4 separate regions of the Homo sapiens genome follow, and all the other regions are linked to region 1. Evidence: promoter capture Hi-C in 16 types of primary human blood cells and fetal thymus (Javierre and others, 2016). All regions are on one chromosome and are shown on one strand. The core of a region is centred on a gene start or on the middle of the fragment in contact, and the rest is flanking DNA. Distances in the headings are between cores, read along the strand shown.

Evidence for each region. Contacts are between HindIII fragments. The CHiCAGO score rates a contact against its expected background, and 5 or more counts as called.
Region 2: a contact is called between a fragment that was not itself captured here and the fragment with the promoter of ANGPT1 in region 1, in 1 of 17 cell types (neutrophils). The highest score is 8.1, in neutrophils.
Region 3: a contact is called between a fragment that was not itself captured here and the fragment with the promoter of ANGPT1 in region 1, in 1 of 17 cell types (megakaryocytes). The highest score is 5.6, in megakaryocytes.
Region 4: a fragment that was not itself captured here is called in contact with the fragment with the promoter of ANGPT1 in region 1 in 1 of 17 cell types (neutrophils); the score reaches 6.0 in neutrophils.

Annotation. Positions count from the first base shown.
Region 1 is chr8:107,496,498-107,499,385 of GRCh38, reverse strand. ANGPT1 (angiopoietin 1) reads left to right here and starts at 1,468. Exons shown (of 9, transcript NM_001146.5): 1 at 1,468-2,124. The coding sequence starts at 1,828. The HindIII fragment of the contact is 4,855 bases long and covers 1-2,888 here.
Region 2 is chr8:107,808,572-107,811,459 of GRCh38, reverse strand. No RefSeq gene overlaps it. Among named protein-coding and RNA genes, the nearest start is that of RSPO2, 270 kb to the left of the region's middle. The HindIII fragment of the contact is 5,175 bases long and covers 1-2,888 here.
Region 3 is chr8:107,188,487-107,191,374 of GRCh38, reverse strand. No RefSeq gene overlaps it. Among named protein-coding and RNA genes, the nearest start is that of ANGPT1, 310 kb to the left of the region's middle. The HindIII fragment of the contact is 788 bases long and covers 984-1,771 here.
Region 4 is chr8:107,757,712-107,760,599 of GRCh38, reverse strand. No RefSeq gene overlaps it. Among named protein-coding and RNA genes, the nearest start is that of ANGPT1, 260 kb to the right of the region's middle. The HindIII fragment of the contact is 3,812 bases long and covers 1-2,888 here.

The DNA of each region.
Region 1 (2,888 bases), core at 219-2,718:
TCAAGAGGCTGCAAAAGTGGTTCAAATATTTTATTGCTGTGTTTGGCATAACTTGCTTCCATATCTGTCCAATCAGAAATTTGTTATTTGGTGTGGAAAGGACTGATGAATCTCGGCAAGGTTTCTTTCCCCAAGTAAATCGCATTTGTTCTGGAATTTGTTTTGACCTCTCCTCTAACTTCTCCCTAAATGCCCATCTCTAACCACTACGGACCTTCACCCACTGCCCTGTTCTCCTTCCAAGACATGGGAGATGACAGCTGTGGCTTCTGTTTTCACACCATGACTGCAGTTGTCTAAAAGCCCTCCCAGTTCCTAATGAAAATCCCAACTCATAATTCAGGTTTTCTGCATCTAGTAAAGATCTCAAAGCCGTTCCCTAAATTCTACAATTATTGCCTGTTTATGTTTATGGGTCCCTTTGTTCAAATGTTTATACGCTGCCTGTGGGAAATCATCTTCTGATAATTTTTCTTTCTTCCTTCACAGAAGCACAGAGATGTCTCCTGTACAGCCCATTGCTGGCTGTTAGCACACCTGATATATGCTTGTTCTCACATAGTATGTCTGTGCAGCCACAGGAGGTTTTTATGTGGAACTTCCACACCAGTGTTAAAGACAGCCATAGCCACCAAAGAGATCCTTGTAAAATACAGGATTAGGATATACCACAGGAATTAATAATTCTCAAGCCACTGCTTTAAATTGTAGCCACATTGTTTTTGTAGGGAAGTTGCTCAATTTATATACACAGAACATGAAGGGTTGCATTCTGATCAGGACACCAGTTTCATTTAAGAACCCTATACCAAAAGGTACTTAGATAACCCTCTTTAATATGCACATACTATATTGCTTTGTGCAACATATTGCTTTGAGCAACAAATGATGCTAATTTTCTTGCTAATTTGATCCTCTCTGATTATTTTCTTCAACTCCTAAAAGTCTAAGTGAATACAATGAAAGAATACCATCTGTAAAAACTGTTTTTTAACATATTTTTCCTCAGAGTCAAGAATACATGTTTTTTAAAGACATTTAATAATGATATGGGTTTATCATTCTCTATCAAAAATAATTCCATTGGACATTATGCCAATTTTCTTCTTAGGGTCCCTCGACTAAATAGTAACTTTAAAAACATACTGCTAGTTTGCTATATTTTAGTAGGTCAGCATGCACACCAAAAGTGTATTAAGGTGGACTGCTCTATTTATTGATTTGCCATGAATCTGCTAAAGGCTCAAGGCAATTGTCTGTGGAAAGGGGCGGGAGGGCCATACATGATCGAGGTCATGCGCATCTAGCCAATTTGTAAGACGATCCCGCCGCCCTAAGCCATCAGCAATCCTTAGTATAGGGGCACACTCATGCATTCCTGTCAAGTCATCTTGTGAAAGGCTGCCTGCTTCCAGCTTGGCTTGGATGTGCAACCTTAATAAAACTCACTGAGGTCTGGGAGAAAATAGCAGATCTGCAGCAGATAGGGTAGAGGAAAGGGTCTAGAATATGTACACGCAGCTGACTCAGGCAGGCTCCATGCTGAACGGTCACACAGAGAGGAAACAATAAATCTCAGCTACTATGCAATAAATATCTCAAGTTTTAACGAAGAAAAACATCATTGCAGTGAAATAAAAAATTTTAAAATTTTAGAACAAAGCTAACAAATGGCTAGTTTTCTATGATTCTTCTTCAAACGCTTTCTTTGAGGGGGAAAGAGTCAAACAAACAAGCAGTTTTACCTGAAATAAAGAACTAGTTTTAGAGGTCAGAAGAAAGGAGCAAGTTTTGCGAGAGGCACGGAAGGAGTGTGCTGGCAGTACAATGACAGTTTTCCTTTCCTTTGCTTTCCTCGCTGCCATTCTGACTCACATAGGGTGCAGCAATCAGCGCCGAAGTCCAGAAAACAGTGGGAGAAGATATAACCGGATTCAACATGGGCAATGTGCCTACACTTTCATTCTTCCAGAACACGATGGCAACTGTCGTGAGAGTACGACAGACCAGTACAACACAAACGCTCTGCAGAGAGATGCTCCACACGTGGAACCGGATTTCTCTTCCCAGAAACTTCAACATCTGGAACATGTGATGGAAAATTATACTCAGTGGCTGCAAAAAGTAAGTGATTGCTTTCAGTTTCTAATAGCACGGACCTTTTTCCTTTCTTGCACTGCAGCTAACTTAAAGTTCCTTAGGGGAGCATTTGTGTATTTACCTTTTGCTCCAGGGGGGCAGTGTTTGCAATTGCAAGACGGCTGTCTGGGTTTGGCTTCCTGGGTAAGCCAAGGTTTGGGGGCTTGCCCAAACCTATGAATGTGTGGGGGCACCCCGTTTGTGTGTCTAGCCCTGGCAAATTTTATGACATTTTTGGTTTCTCTTTTCTAAAGTTCAGCATTAAGGTTCTCTCTGTCAAAACACTACCTTAAGAAAGAAAGTATGTACCTCTTAAGCAAGTTGGTGAAAAATAAATAATAATGACAATATTAATTAATAAGATCAAATCGATTTTGCACCAGAAAATTTTGTGCCGCTGGGGTGGCAAATCATCACAAAGTATTTGTTTTTTTAACCTTTATAAAAATTAACATGAAGTGAGAGTAAATATAAAATATGATATTTGGTTGGAGAAATTGTATATTTATGTAAAGGGAACTGTTAGTTTCAGCAAGTGGTAGAATAGTAGACTGATTTCTGTTAAATATTTTTTTCTTCTGTCCTTGAGAAAAAAAATTAAAAAGATACATTGTAATGTTAACTGTCGGAAAGGGGTTGCTCGCTCACGATGAGGGCATGCTGGCTGTTGAGGAAGACATGCACCTGCAGATATGGGCTGAACGCAGCATGTAGTCTACTATATTCCTGAAATACCTCCCTTCTCAGGG
Region 2 (2,888 bases), core at 285-2,784, 310 kb before region 1:
ACATTTACAGGGAATAACGTGGACTTTGGGGCACATCACAACTTAGTGTGGAGTCTATATATTTGACATTTGTAAGGAATAATGCAACCAGAAATGCTCATTGGGTTGCACTGTCCTGTGAATGTGAAAACCTCATGACAGCAGTACCAACCTGTCCTGCCTATCACTGTGGTCTCTGTGAGCATAGCACAGCCCTCTGTAAATCAATGTTCCCATATTATTTGTTCAAAGAAAGAGTGAGCCAAAGGTACTTATTGCACTTTCTCTTCCTGAACCCCAGACATGTATCTACAACTGCCTAAAGGACATTTCCAACTGAGTGTGTAGAATGTTGCACAAAATCAGTGGGCCAAACTAATCTCTTGCTTTTCACCGCTATAACCTAGTTTTTCTGTGAATGGCGTTGCTAACCATCTTGTTGTTCATGTCAGAAACTCAATGTTCATCCTCGTTTTTTTCTCTTTTTCTCAAACTCCTAGCCATATCTGGAATATGTGCAGCTTTACATACCTCCTCTACCCTTCCCCTGTTTCAGAACTCTGGACTTCCCTGAATCACTGCAACAATCTTTAAGATGGCTTTCCCCACATTCACTCTTGTTCTCCCCCAATTCATTCATGAATGACAGACCCCTGAAATGAAAACATTCAAGTGTACAGTCAAAGCTGAAGAAAGGAGGCATGTGTTATGGCAGGCAGAGTGCTGGAATGGAAGAGAAGAGATCTAAGTTCTGGTTCTGGTTCTATTATTGCCTGGATAAGTCAATTTGGACATTTCTCTGCCTCTATGGCTATTGGCTTATCTATAAAATAAAAACTTTGGATCAGATGATTTCCAAAGATTCTTCAAACATAAAAATTCAATGCTTTTGTTAAAACTGTTTCTAATTCTGGAGCAAAAGACTTTTATGATGCTTTAAAATTGATTTTAATAATAGAGCTGGTTGCAAATGGCTTTAAATATGTATTCCTTAAAGGCTTCTCTCCATGGTGGCTACAAACGGGCTAATCCCCTAATGGGATTATAATTCCAGATACAATCTGGTCATTTGTTCAAATTAATAATTCCAGATACAATCGGGTCATTTGTTCAAATTAAACTTCACTTTTTCTTATCTCAATTTGTAGGTACAAAAGTTGAATGAGATCAACTTTTGTCCCTGTTTTCTTGTAATATAAAGACCTTCAAGGAGTCTTTAATCCACTCAGAAAATAAGTTTCTGTATATTTCTCTCACAAAATAACAATTAATTAGAACTTGACTTAATTGAAAGTAATATGCCCTCAGCTAGCATTATTGATTTAATTAAGAGTTAACAGGATGACATGGTTGCCTTAAATGTGACTGCACCAATAGGGCTCGAGGGATAGAATAAAGAAAATAATGATTTCATATTATTCATTGGTTGGGCAATATCTGGAGTTACTGTGTTCAATCTGAGTACTGTATTTTAGAGGGCACATTGACAAACTACAATGAGTTTGGAGGAGGATACTGTGTTGTTGTAGAATCTACAAACCCTATATGAAACATGGTTGAAGAAGCCAAAGATATTTAAGCTAGAAAAGAAGAAAATTATGGAGGATACCAGAGATCTCAACTTTCTGAGGGACTGTCAGTAGCACAGAGATTTGGCTTCCTCTAGTGCTTCAATGGATATAATATGGGATCTTTGAAACATTGTAGCTCAAACCACACTATTCCTGTGTGTTAACACTCCCGTGACTTTTCATTATTCTTGCAATGAACTCCAATCTTCCTATGACAGACCTTCACCCACTTATGTCTCCATGCCCCTCACTCACTAGGGTCAAGACCTATTAGTTTTTGGTTTTTTGCTTTGTGTTCCTTCAACATACAAAAATTCGAATCCACCTCAAATCTCTTATACTTGCCGTTCCCTAACTAAACAAGGAACTGCATGAACAAATAAAGCATTAGTAGTGGGTACAGATTAAAGACAGCAGATTTTGCTCAATACAAGGAAGAACTGAGCCTCAGAACCCAATACCCAGAGTCCTGGTAGAAAATGAAGATCTGTCCATCTGGAATGATTAAAGAGAAGGCTAATCACTTCCTGCCATGGAAGTTGTAGAAGGTGAATTGGTTGCTTTGCGCTTTATTGGACAGAAACTCATCATAAGTTGCCTTTGGCCCAAAAAGGAATATCCTGGTTTATTTAACTAAAATGTCCCAGCATGGCTAAATCCAGGTAATCAAATAATGTCTCCGGGAACATTATTTGTTCCAACCACAACCTCTGCTTCTCTCTGTTGGCCTCATTCTCAGGCAGGCTGTCTCCAAGAGGAAGCACTGTGGCCTCCAGAAGTTTCAGGACTATATCCTGCCTGATTAGCAATCCCTTAAAAAAAGAGAGTTGCTGTTTCTTAAAAAATTCCAGCAATAGTCCCAGGATTAGCTATATTTGGTTTGGCTTGGGCCACATGTCCACCCTGAGCCAATCACTGCAGCCTGGAGATGAGATAATTTCAACCGCCACTTTTGAGACTGGTGAAAAAACACACCTCTCACAAAAGCCAGAAGTAGAATCAGCTTCACCAGAACGACATGAAATAAAATTGTGGGAGGGATAGTTCTTCAAAATAAAATAAGGGAGTAGCTAACAAAATACCAAAGAAAAGGATGCTGGAAAGACAAGAACATAAGATCTCTGTTAAAAATGATGTTTTAATTAAGGATGTTCAAAATTTATATAACTGCAAAAAGGTTGGATTATCTGACTTCTAACAATATGTTTGATTCTCAGTGTTCTATGATAGAGAGTTGTGGTTTTATTTATTTTTTTTGTCTTTATCTGCTGTGGTCAATGTCTTAGAAAGATCCTGTCCTATCTGATGGCTTGAGATAAAGTCAAAATCGTCTGCTCA
Region 3 (2,888 bases), core at 128-2,627, 310 kb after region 1:
TGTTTCATTTTTTTAATGTATTTCCCTGAGTCTTGTCAAAAGGGTGGTATTGATTACAATGTTTACTTACATTTTGGAATCTCTCTAAACTTTAAACTCAGCTTAAAAGCAGGATCATGTATCTGTTCTTGAGTAAGTGTAAGGCAAAGTTGCTATAATCAAATAACTTTAGTATTCGCATTAAAAATAAAAATAACATTGAAGTCATTTTAGGTAGACAATTTGCAAAGCCTCCCGAGTCCATTAATAATTGCACATTCCAAAATCTCTGAAACTTTGATTGATGCATTGATAATACTTTCTTCTGTTTTAGATAAAGAAACTATTGACTAAAACTAAAGCCAAGTTTTGCTTTTAAAATATCTCCAGTGAATGTCAAGCTATATCATAGCCTAATTCACACTGCAATGCATATCATGAACATTGTACCAATCATAAATCCCTACTTTAAATCTAGATTTTATAATGACAGCTCTGCTTTCAGTTATATTGTTGGCAAGATTTCTCTGAATACTGACTACAGGGATTACAAGGTCATTGTTGGTTCCAATGAATCCCATAAACTTGTGAATAAGAAGCCCTTAACTTTCCAGGGCTTTAAGTGTCATGATAAGGAATAGAATATGTCAATAACCTGCTCTGTAGGTTTCCTGTCTTAGATGTCTGGATTTGATCACATCTCGGGTAATAAATTTGCCTCATAATTATTTAAGGAAGATCACTTGGAAACATGGATGGCCAAAGGAACTCTTAATATTTAAAGTTACTTGGAACCATTAAACAAATTTATTAATATTGATCAATTTTAATTACTATTAACCTCAGGAAAACAAACCAACATTAGATGATTTTGAGCACTCTCTTGATTATTCGTATTACTAATGCTTGATTAGTTTGTCCAAATTGTCCTTTCATACGTGAGCTTTAACTGTTCCTGAACATCAAGTCTGATTCAGATGGCAGTAAGAAAAGGTACAAAAGCTTTATCCACATCAGAGTCCTGATTAAGAAGCTAGCGTTTCACTGACACTATGAGTTCCGTTATTCTTAACCTGTGAATAACAGCTTCCATAGCCATTTAAATGACATCCTACTCCTCCCAGTATGTTCCACTGACTCAGCCTTACCCTTCTGGTGTACATACTTGATTCTCATTGCTTCTGTGTCTCTTGCCTTCAATATATTTCCTTTTTCTTTCTTAAAAGTCAAGAAACTTCTGACAGCCTCAAATCCAGGGTGCCATCTCTTCTATTTTTAACTCCTTGACCCTTTAAGCTACGTGTATTACTCTTTATGTGTCACTGGTGTGTCTCTCATTCTCAGAGAGGCAGAAACAATGTAGTTTTTTCTTAGTACTCACACACAGCCAACTGTAATACTCAGTATGCAGTAGGTATGTCACATATGCTTGATGAAAGAAGAGATAGCAATGCAATTTGGAGAAACTTCCCAAAAGAGTTATCTTGCCCACTCACTCTTGCAGTTTGTTAACCCTCTATGAAAACAAATATTAACGAATTATATTATTACATCCCCCACTCTCCTTTATAATCATCCTTTGCAATAGCAACTATATTGCCCAGGTATAGGTACTTGGGGAGAAAAGGAAGAAAATCAGGAAAATGGCTGATTTAGGATTCATCTTAATGCTTAACAATCATAATTTGTAATGTGATATTAAGAATTTTTAGGGAGATATATAGCTTGAAATAATTTATTCTGTTTATTAAATTATTTTAAAAACCCAGGAAATTATGCTTACTACCAAGCTTTGCATTTGATTTTTCTAGCTCTGTCATTTCTAAAATATATGTGCAGAAATATTCTTCTGGAAGCCTGGTATTCTGGTTTCATAGACGGGAACAAAGTAAAGTAGGCTGTTGAATTAATTGGAGCTGAAACAAAAGGCTTCCTGAACCTCACCTGTTAATCACTGAAATGAAAGGCCAATTCAAAGATGTAACGCAACCCTGTCAGCCGTCCAGAGCTGCTTGCATTGCCACAAATTCACTTATGACTCTCCTGGGAGTACCACTGCTGTGAAACCTACAGATTTAGAAACTGCCCCTCAATTCTGCTCAGCACAGAATGCAAACATTTGACTCATATGGCACTTGTTTGTCAAATGAGCCAGGACAGGGAAATTGATGAGTGTACTAATTATTCTTGAAAGAGCCAGAGAAGAGTGGAGAACATTCATGAACTTAAGATAATGAAGTGAAGAGCAAGGGAATGAATTCTCCCAAATTTTAAAAGGCTTCAGATTCACAGACAGCAAGGCTGGTGAGCAGGACAGGGATTTCTCAGTTAGAAACAGTCCTCCTCCTCTACTGCAATCCTGACATCTCCCTTGCAGATTAAAGCAATTGGAGCATAAATTTTTGGAAACTGTGAAATTTTTTTTTCCAGCATTGAATACCTATGTGTAATAGGGAAATACAGATCATAACTCCTTTGAGTAATCACTTGTCTTCCTAGTTTTTATAAAAATTAATGCTTTTTCTCCTAAGTACCAAAGCGGAACACTATGGTAGTTCAAATGGTGGAGCCTCTCAGAAAAAGGCTAAATTACTATTTAACGTAAACATACAAAGGGACAATCCTGAGCCTAAGTGAAATTACTCTGAACTTTTTAAAAAATGAGTCAAATTTGGTTTTTAAGCCACAGATACTTGCCTGCATCAAAGTTACAAGTAAAAAATGTCATAAATATGAGCTAGAATTAAATTTTTGAGTTGGTATACTAATACAAAGTGGCAATGATTTTAAGCTCCTTGCAAGGAAAATTAAAATATTTATATCTTCTACATCCTTTCTCCAGAAAATAAAGAAGACACTAGAAGAAAAAACCTTCAAAAGAGAAATATCTTAGGTGAGTAGGCACCCAT
Region 4 (2,888 bases), core at 274-2,773, 260 kb before region 1:
AGGGAGCATCAGGAAAACAACTGTATGTTGTTTTATCCATATTCTAAATATTTATAGCTTAAAATTTGGCATGATGGAAGTCTCTCTTCACTAATTTATCACTCTGTCACCAGCTACAGAGCTATTTTCTTCTTTCTATGTCCCCATGATAAGTCAGAAGCACTTTGGATATTTTAATTTTATTATGATTTTTTAATTTGTTGTGCATATATATTAGGTGTATATATTTATTGGGTACATGAGATATTTTGATACAGGCATACCATGAATAATAATCACTTCAGGGTAAATGGGGTGGGTATTCATCCCCTCAGGCATTTATCCTTTGTATTACAAACAATCCAATTATATCCTTATTTTTAAATGTATATTAAATTTATATTGACTATAGTCTCCCTGCTGTGCTATTGAATACTAGATCTTATTCATTCTATCTATTTTTGTGTACTCAGTAACCATTCCCACATCCTCTCCCCCCACAACTACCCTTTGGACATTGTATTTTAATTCTCAATTTATATTTCTGTTTCCCACTAAAGGGTGAGCTCCTTGAAGCAAAGGACAGTGTGTGAAAGACTTCACATCTCCTGCACCTTGAACAGAATGCAGAACTTAAGAGTACACACACACACCAAAGTTCACTGAATGGTTTAAAGAGACCCAAATCCATTCTAGAGCTTGCTTTACATTGTACCATATAGTGAGCAACATTTCCTTATGATGAAAGGGTACTTTTCCTGACAGCTCAATTTAGAAAATGAACTGGTTATTTCTATGATTTTTAAAAATGTATACTTCAGGAGTGACATTTCTTCTGTTAATTTCAAAAGTTTTTGGAGGCCCAGACTTTAAGTCCTCTGTGATAGGATTGAGGAGGACAGCCTAGGAACAATGAGCCTCCTGCTCGTTGCTGTCTGGTAGCTGGCCAGAAGTAGGAAGGGGAAGGAAGAGAGGAGCACTGTGGCCTCTCTTCTCCTCTCCATGCCTCGCTGCAAAAGTGGAGAAGAAGGAAGGAAACTAGAAAGGTGTCAGAAAGGGGTGTCATGAAATCTATGAGCATCCAAATTTGATTTTTTCAGCTAGTCACAAATTTAACATAACAACCTAAAATTAAACTTGAAACACAGAAAAAACAAATACATTTAAGAAACATACTGGTAAATGATGACCTTGTCTATTTAAAATCCTTACTGACTGTAAACTCTTTGAACAGCGATTTTGTGAGCCTTATGTGGCTTTTTATCCTGGGTCTTAGCATAGAAAAAGTATACTCATTGAATGATTGAATAAATAACTTTAAAAAATACTTAGAACTAAGCAAACAAACATATAGGCAATTCCTAATATGCAAAGAAATGGAACTGCCTGCTGCCTGAAATTCTTTGAGGAATGATTAGAAGATTTTTTAAAAAATAGTAAATAAACATAGGTTGCAAGATGATTTTTGGAACTCAGGATTTTCATAGGTACATGTTACCCACAGTAACTGGCCAAAACCTCAAATCCTAGTTTACCAATACTTCAATAAGCACAGAATTTACTGATCATGTCTAAACATTTCTTTAAGGCAATGCAAGTTAACTTTCAATTGGAAAACACTGGCTATGACTTCAATTCTTCTTAAAGGGACATTCTGAGGAGTTCATTGATATAAATATGAACATACATGAAAAACTGTTCAGTATCATTAGCCATTAAAGAAATGCAAATTGAAACTACAATGTGATATCACAACACACCTATCAGAATGGCTAAAATTTTTAAAAAAATGTAATAACATCTAATCCTGGTGAGAATGTGAAGAAAGTAGATCCTTATTCATTGTTTGTAAGAATATAAAATGGTACAGCCATTCTGGAAAAGAATATGGCAATTCCTTATGTACTTACAATCAGTTTGTGTTAGCCACAGACTGTGAGACGGAAGGACAAATATCATATGGAACCACCAAAGAACAAGACACCATAAAGTGACTTACTATACTACCGTAGCATAAAATGTGTGCTGCTAACTTGTATTTTAATTCCAGAGATCTTCAGCAATGTAGTCTAACAAAGCAAACTGTCAGGAAGAATAAATAATGGAAACCCTAAAAAATAATGAAACCTGAACCTGCGGCAGATAGGGACTGTATAAAATTACACATCCACCTGAGAGAATGGAATATGTGAAAGTCGTTGCTGGCATTTTCTCCAGGAGGCATTTGTGGGAAATTGTATTGAAGAGAGGCAGTTTTAAGAGCAGAGGAGGAATTCATTTACTAGAATTAGGTCCTAACAAGATGGAACTGCTACCTCATATGGCTCATGTATAGAACTGTAGAAACATTTCATGAGTATTTTACGTTCCTTTGCTCACTGTAACATCTATAAGGTGCTGACAAAATAATTTGGAGTTAGACCAATTGTTAAAAATAAATTATAGTGTATCTATTTTATGGTGAGGCATAGTGCTATGGCTGAATAAGAAGGAACCATAGTTAGTTTGCAGCAGGGAAGAATATCTAGAAAAGTGAGCTCCTTATTTTACCCTTTGGATTTTACTATGTACTACTGAGCTTGACATACGTAAGCAGTATGATTCTGAGAATTCTGAAGAACCATGACTAAGCTGATCCCATCTGGAAAAATCTTGATGTTATTTGGCTAGACATAACTCTTATGAGGTGGTCTATATCCAGATACTACACAACTCCTTGGAGTTTAGAGAAAAACAACAGAGGCTGTTCCAATCATTTGGTCAGAGCAGCAAGAGATTTTTGCATAAAATGCTCAAACCTTGGAGAGGTTACTTATTATTTCTGACTCAGTTTTCTTACTGGTAAAACAGAGATTAGAGTATCGGCTTCTATGGTTGCCATACAGCTTAAAATGAGGTAAACCTGTAAT